Regions from separate parts of the Homo sapiens genome. Here region 1 is linked to region 2. Evidence: promoter capture Hi-C in human tissues and cell types (Jung and others, 2019). All regions are on one chromosome and are shown on one strand. Each heading gives the region's core, a stretch centred on a gene start or on the middle of the fragment in contact. The rest is flanking DNA. Distances are from core to core; before and after follow the strand shown. Region 1 has its middle 80 kb from the start of GNAT3. Region 2 holds the start of SEMA3C (semaphorin 3C).

Region 1 (3,503 bases), core at 143-2,642, 490 kb before region 2:
GGCAGCCATTTCAAAATACATCCAAGAAATATATTCTGCGGTAATAAATTGTGACTTCCTTCAGTTTAGCAACCAAACATGAGTTTTATATATTTTATTGTTAGAGTAGGTAGCTAGTCAGACATGAGCACCGCAGGAGAGGGAGCCCCCCTACCCCCCACCAGAAATGTCAGGTGACCATCAAGTGATGGTGAAGTGGTTGTTACCTGTCTCTCTAAGATAATTGGCCACAGCCAACACCAGGAAAAGGCAGTCTCCCAATTAACACAAAAAACCTGAAACTAGGGATCAGCAGCTTCCTGATAAGATCTTAGGAGTTAGGCAAGTGGGCTCAAGCACACACATTAAGAGGCAAAATGGTAGAGTTTAACTGGTGTATGGCCTTCTAGTGATATTCAGCTGGTAAGGGAAGAACGCCTCAAATGAGCATGCATATAGTTTCACTAAAAACACTGTGCATGCTCCTCTCCCAAGTGCTGGCAGGACACTGTGCATGTGGACAGCCCACCCAAAGGGAAGAATCAGGGGAGAAGGGACACATGACCCCAGATGAATGCCAACATATAAAACCCCAAGTCAAAGGTCATACAGGGCCCTTGACTCTCTCAACTCACCTGCTCAGCCCTCTTTCAAGTATACTTTCGTTCCTGTTCTAAACTTTTTAATAAACTTTCACTCCTACTCTAAAACTTGCCTCAGTCTCTCCTTCTACCTTATGCCCCTCAGTCAAATTCTTTCTTCTGAGGAGCAAGAATTGAGGTTGCTGCAGACCTGTATGGATTCACTGCCAATAACATCGTTGGTAAATTCTTCTTACTACCTGTGATTAACCATTTTCTGTTGCTGAGGCTCTGACACCTCACCTGGAACCAGTGACACAGCCTCAGGAGGTCCTGACACGTGCTCAGGGTGATTGGGCTACCGCTTGGTTTTATACATTTTAGGGAGATATGAGACATCAATTAATACATGTAAGATGTATATTGGTTGAGTCCAGAAAGGCAGGACAACTCGAAGCAAGGGCTTCCAGGTCATAGGTGGATTCAAGAATTTTCTAATTGGCAATTGGTTTAAAGAGTTAAGTTATTGACTAAAATCAATAGGAAGGAATGTCTGGGTTGAGATAAGAGTTTATGGACAGCGAGGTTCCCATTATGCAGATAGAATCCGTGGAAGGGAATATTTCTTACCAGTCTTAAAGAGTCTGTTCTATCAGTCTTAAGGCCTCTGTTTTCATGTTAATGTTGGTCAACTGTGCTTGAATTCCAAAGGGAGAAGGGTATAATGAGGCATGTCAGACCCTCATTTCCCATCATGGCCTGAACTAGTTTTTCAAATTAACTTTAGAATGCCTTTGGCTGTGAGGAGGAGTCTGTTCAGTTGGTTGGGAGGCTTAGAATTTTGCTTTTGGTTTACTTCTAATAAAGTTTTTGGATTTTTTATAATTTAGTTGAGGTGTAATTGAATTGAAATACAATAAGCTGCATATATTTAAAGTATATAATTTAATTTGCTGTGACATCTGTATATGTCTGTGTAACCCTCACCTTAATAAGGATAACAAGAATTTCCATAACTCTGAAAAGTTTCCTTGTGCCCCTTGCAACTCATCCCTTCTTCTGCCTTGTCCCAAGGCAATCACTAACTTGCTTTCAGTCATTACCACTTTCTTCACAAGAATTTGTAAGTGGACTCACACAATTTGTAGAAGGTATAAGAATGGTGAATAAGCAGATGAAAATTTCAATGTTTGTAGTCATCAGGGAAATGAAAACTAAAACTACAATGAGAGTAATATATGCTTATTTGAATTAATAAAATGTAAAAGGTTGATGACCAAACCATGTGTTGGCAGGGTGAAGCAACTGAAATTTTCATACATGGGTGTGGGAATGTAAAATGGTACAGCCGCTTTGGGAAACAGTTTGACCATTTCTTCAAAAGTTAGATACACCTGTCATATGACCCAGTCACTCCACTCCAGAGCATTTACTCAAGATAAGTGAAAACATGTCACGCCAATACTTTTACATGGATATTCATAGCAGCTTTATTTGTAATAGCCCCAAACTTGAAACAACTCAAATGTCAATCAGTATGTGCATGGATAAATAAATTATGGCATATCAATACAATGGAATATTGCACAGTAATAAAAAGAATGAACTATTGACACATGCCAGCAACAGGGCTGAATCCCAAAGTGTGTACATTTTTAAAGCTTTCCTGCCTTTAAATCAGAGGTTTTCAGTGAGGGAGAGTGAAGAGGCAAAAAAGGAAGAAGGGAGATCTGGCTTATTGTAATCATGTAAAGACTTTTTCCCTAAATGTACACACAAGATTGATTCCATGGAGTATATCAGGCAGAGAAAAACAGAAAGAATGCTAATATATTTGCAACTTCTTTCCTTGTCTCCCTTCCTCCATGGAAATGTCAAACATGGGAAAAGGAGAACTAGATATATTTAACTTTCTTGGCAAGTCTTTTGTCAAACTACACAGCTTTCAGCTTTTCTTAGGCCAAATGAATCCTAGATATTGACAGCATGAAAATATCCATGATTTTTAAGTATTTCTCCAAAATAGGAGAGACCCATGATGAATAATAGATAGGAAACCCTATTGAGCAAATAGATTTACTAGAATTTCCAGGCCCACATAGACCAAGCAAACCTGAGAGCCACAGTCCATTTTCTTTTAAGTAATATTACTTTGTAGTTGTTCTAGGAAGTAATATTACCCAAAAGAAAAAAGAAGAAACATCATGAGTTAATGCAACTTTGAGCTATCTAAGGGATAACAAAATCATTCTAGTCTTTTTATTAAGACTTTTACTTCCCTATAGCATAATTTCTTTATAATTGGTCATCCTGATAGTGACAGGAGGCAGCCAAATGCCTAGGCAGATAGGGGCAGGTACCCGGTGAAACCTCACCTCCAAGCTGAAGACAGTTTAAACCTGAAATCCAAGCTACAAGCTAAATCCTGGGACTAGATTGAGAACTTGTCCTCCTGTTTGGTGTGCTTTCCTCTGATTAATCCCCACCCTTCACCTATTTTACATATACCTACCCTTTCCTAATTGGTTTTCTATGCTTTTGTGCCCACCTTTGACTGGTGTTTTTACTTTAACCTTTGTTACATACTCACAAACCAATCAGCATACACTCCCCATCCTGTGCCTATAAAGACCCCAGACTCAGTCAGTGGAGGTGGAAATGAACTGACTTTGGGAAAAGACAACCTGATTTTTGGGAAGATTACCAGTATACCTTTCCTGTCCCTTCTCTAGCTCCCTCTCCTCTGAGAGCCATCTTCATTGGTCAATAAAATTCTCTACCTTCACCATCTTTCAACAGTCCATGTGACTTCAATCTTCTTGGATGCTGGACAAGAGCTCAGGACCCACCGAGTGTGGGTACCCAGAAAGGCTGCCACACCAGCCCTTTGCCCTCATTGGTGGAGGGCAGCTGCCCCATGTGCTGAGGCAAAGAGCCAACAGA
Region 2 (3,475 bases), core at 144-2,643:
CCATAAACCTACAGGAGCTCTAGTGGCTACATCATGTAAAATAAACTCAGGACCATTAAAGAAACACAATCATTTTGCTTCTACCATAATTACACAATAAAGTGACCCAAGAGTCCAGTAAAGAAATTTATTTTTACAGGTTACAACAATGCTGATCTTCATTATTTGGCTTTTCAAATTAAAATTTCATAGTCAAAATTATTAAATTCTTTGTAAGAACCACTAACAACTGAAAAAGACAGCTTCATTAATACAGAATAAAAAGAATTAAATGGAATATGCAATTTTAAACAAAAATTGTAAGTAGATTTCCTAGGTGGTGCATATGTTATGAGAGTTAGAAATGAAATTGTACGCTTCTTTTACCACACAGATGGAGGAAACTCTAGAGATGTTTGTGTTGGTAATTTTCAAAAGAAACAGTTTCTTCCTGCTTCCACAACCTCTTCACCCTGTCATCCCTAAATTAACTTAGAAAGAAACTGATTTTATGGGTGACTTTCCCTCAGTAATTTACCCCTTGGTTCTGTTGACTTCATAGTTAAAGCCAAAAGAAAAAAACTATTAATATGCCTAACCTTTGTTATGTTTACTGAGCAAGTTGATATTATTTACACATTTTTTTTACATATTGGTATCTTACCTTATATGTTTCTCCCAAAAGTACATATACAACCAATTGCAAAGAATACTGGTGATACAATGGCAGGTGAAACGAAGATAGTCTACAGGGCAATTTGATTTACATCCCACCTAGTGATGAGGAGTGAAAGACTGAAAGCCAAGTGTCTTAAATACACCCCCGCCTCCCCAACAGTATCTTACAACTTCTTCCCTTTAACTCAGACACAGACGTTCCTCTTGGTGTTTTCACTTCTGCTGATCGCAAACTAACAACACATTAAGAAAAGAATTCTCTTATCTCCTCTGGAGCAATTTTGCCTTTGAAGGCACTGTAATACTCAACTTGAAACTCTCCGCAGGTGTCACCGCCTAAAGAAACAACTCGAGCAGGGCTCTCAGCAAGGGGAAAGCTTCCCTGACAAACCGCGTGTGTTCTTAAGAAAATGTCCAGGCTTGAGCATACCAATGTATGAAAAATCAATATACAGGCCAAAAAAGTTATACTTTGCTAAATCTGTAATGCGGAAAATGACCAATTTAGCTTACCGAGGTTGAAAGAAATCAGCACGGAAAAGTCATCAGTTTGCTACCGGGGTTGGATGCGCTTGTGTCTCCAGTCCTTTTCCCAGACGACCTTATTTTCTAGCACGTCGCAAAGGTGAAATTCTTTCTTCCCGGTCCTCTGAGTTTCTTTGTAAAGGAATCTCAGCGCTGCAGTGCCGCGGCACCCGGAGCTCTTCTCCGCGTCGCTCAATCAAGCACCTCGGAGTGAATGGAAAGTGGCCGGAGGCCGGGGGCGAGCGCTCTTGGTGTCCGATTACAGCGCCGCGGCGCGCGGCTCCGGCTGCCCCGGCGCGCCGCCCTGCAGGCTCGCATCACCACCGCGCAGCCCCGGCCGCATCTCCGCCAGCCGCGAGGCCCCACCCCGAGCGCGCCCGCGAGAGCCTGGCAGGGAGCCGCGGGGGCGGACCGGGCGGGGCCGACCCTTAGAGCTCGCGGCTGGCCAGACGCAAGAATGCGCGGCCGCAGGCTGGAGCCCTAGCTCCGCAACCCTGCTCCTTTCGCAGTCCGCGGCGGAGTGAGCAACTTGCTGGGTGCGCTCCACGGTTTTTGTTGCCGGCGGCTCTCGAAGACTTACACAGGCTTTGCCTGGCCGTAAATATCAAAGTGCAAAGCAGTTGTGGTTTTTTATTTTTGCCAGGGAAGGATCACTGCAGCCTTTTAAGGCAAAGAGATGCGTTTTTAAAAGGACGTGAGTTTTGTCCTTATTCTGCTGCGTTTTTTTTTTGTTTTTTGTTTTTTGTTTTTTGTTTTGTTTTTGGAGAGGGAATCTCACTCTGTCGCCAGGCTGGAGTGCAGTGCAGTGGTGTGATCATGGCTCACTGCAACCTCCGCCTCCCGGGTTCAAGCGATTCTCCTGCCTCAGCCTCCTGAATAGCTGGGACTACAGGCTCCCACCACCACGCCCAGCTAATTTTTGTATTTTTAGTAGAGACAGGGCCAGGATGGTCTGGATCTCTTGACCTAATGGTCCGCCCGCCTCAGCCGCCCAAAGTGCCGAGAGCCACCGCGCCGGGCCTCTGTTGCGTGTTTTCTAAAACAGGTCAAGATAAACGACAATCTTGTTGCACAAGTGTATCCTTTTAATGGGTATTGTTTCCTATTGAGTTTCCTTAATGCCCTGAAAGCAGTAATTCTGTTGACCCCTCCACGTTGACTCATATCCAGTACGTTGTCCCCAACCATACTCCCAAACATAATTACACGAAGAAATTATTTGACAATTCTATGTGGAGAGGCTGTTCTGAGTTATGCCAACAGATTGCCATAACCACACATCTACAGAAATACATCAGAGGTATTTTTCCAGCATTACTTTCAGGTACACTCGTTAAACTCTGGAACTGACTTTGATGTTTAAGTGAAAATTACTTCTCCGGACCACAATAAACTAGATGTTTAAACATCGGGAGAAATGAGCTTTGATCCCCATAAAACAAGCAGGCACTTGCTTAAAATCACTGTGGGGCACAGCCCAGCAGATGTCACTCTACAGAAGGAACGTGGAGTGTAATATCTCCACCTTATACCTGACAATTCACATAATGAAACAATCATTAAATTCTTATAAACTGTATCATAGAAAACCCCTCTGGGGGTGCAAAATCATTGTTCAGTGGGAAAGTTGAATGAAATCTCAGGTAGGAGGAAGAGGTGAGTGAGACACATCTTTCATGTGTCTGGGGCCCACCTCTTGTGTTCAGTAAACATACACGTGTCTCAGACTCACGCTGCATAGTCAAGGAACGAAGGATCAAGTCAAATAATGCAAATTTATGAGTTCAAAAATACTATTCCAGGGCTAATATTATCTCCAAACGTCAAAAAATTAATATAGTAACAACAGTTAAAATTATTTTTTGTGATGATGCGTGAGAAGATCCTTGACATAAATTTGTAATAAGGAATTTAACCCCCCAAAAACTGACAATATTAAAATCCAGATGTCAATGTGAATAAGCACTGTGCGTGCTTCTCTGAAATACTTCTGAAACTGAGTAAGATCCAGGTTATATACTCTCCACTATTATCCTCCTTCTGATATCTCATTCGGCATTTATATATTAAGCAGGGAGAAGAATAAATCATTAGAAAGATGAGTGTGTGGATTAAATTAATTTAGAAATGTGGAGCTGTTAGAAATTGATCAGCAAATTCACGTAAGATGGAATTCGTTTATACATTTTAAGTTTGAGAAAACCACGATAAAGAGTTGCAAGATGAAATGCATCTCAAACGGTGTATTTACAAAGGAGCTTAATTCCAAACTCAATTTACAAACACCAATGAA

The links. Contacts are between HindIII fragments. The study calls those that stand out against the background at their distance.
Region 1: a fragment that was not itself captured here is called in contact with the fragment with the promoter of SEMA3C in region 2 in 1 of the 25 tissues and cell types used here (H1 embryonic stem cells).

The regions. Positions count from the first base shown.
Region 1 is chr7:80,430,598-80,434,100 of GRCh38, forward strand. No RefSeq gene overlaps it. Among named protein-coding and RNA genes, the nearest start is that of GNAT3, 80 kb to the right of the region's middle. The HindIII fragment of the contact is 5,075 bases long and covers 1-3,503 here.
Region 2 is chr7:80,917,658-80,921,132 of GRCh38, forward strand. SEMA3C (semaphorin 3C) reads right to left here and starts at 1,394. Exons shown (of 18, transcript NM_006379.5): 1 at 1,171-1,394. RefSeq lists an enhancer at 914-983 and a silencer at 1,531-1,660. The HindIII fragment of the contact is 9,014 bases long and covers 1-3,475 here.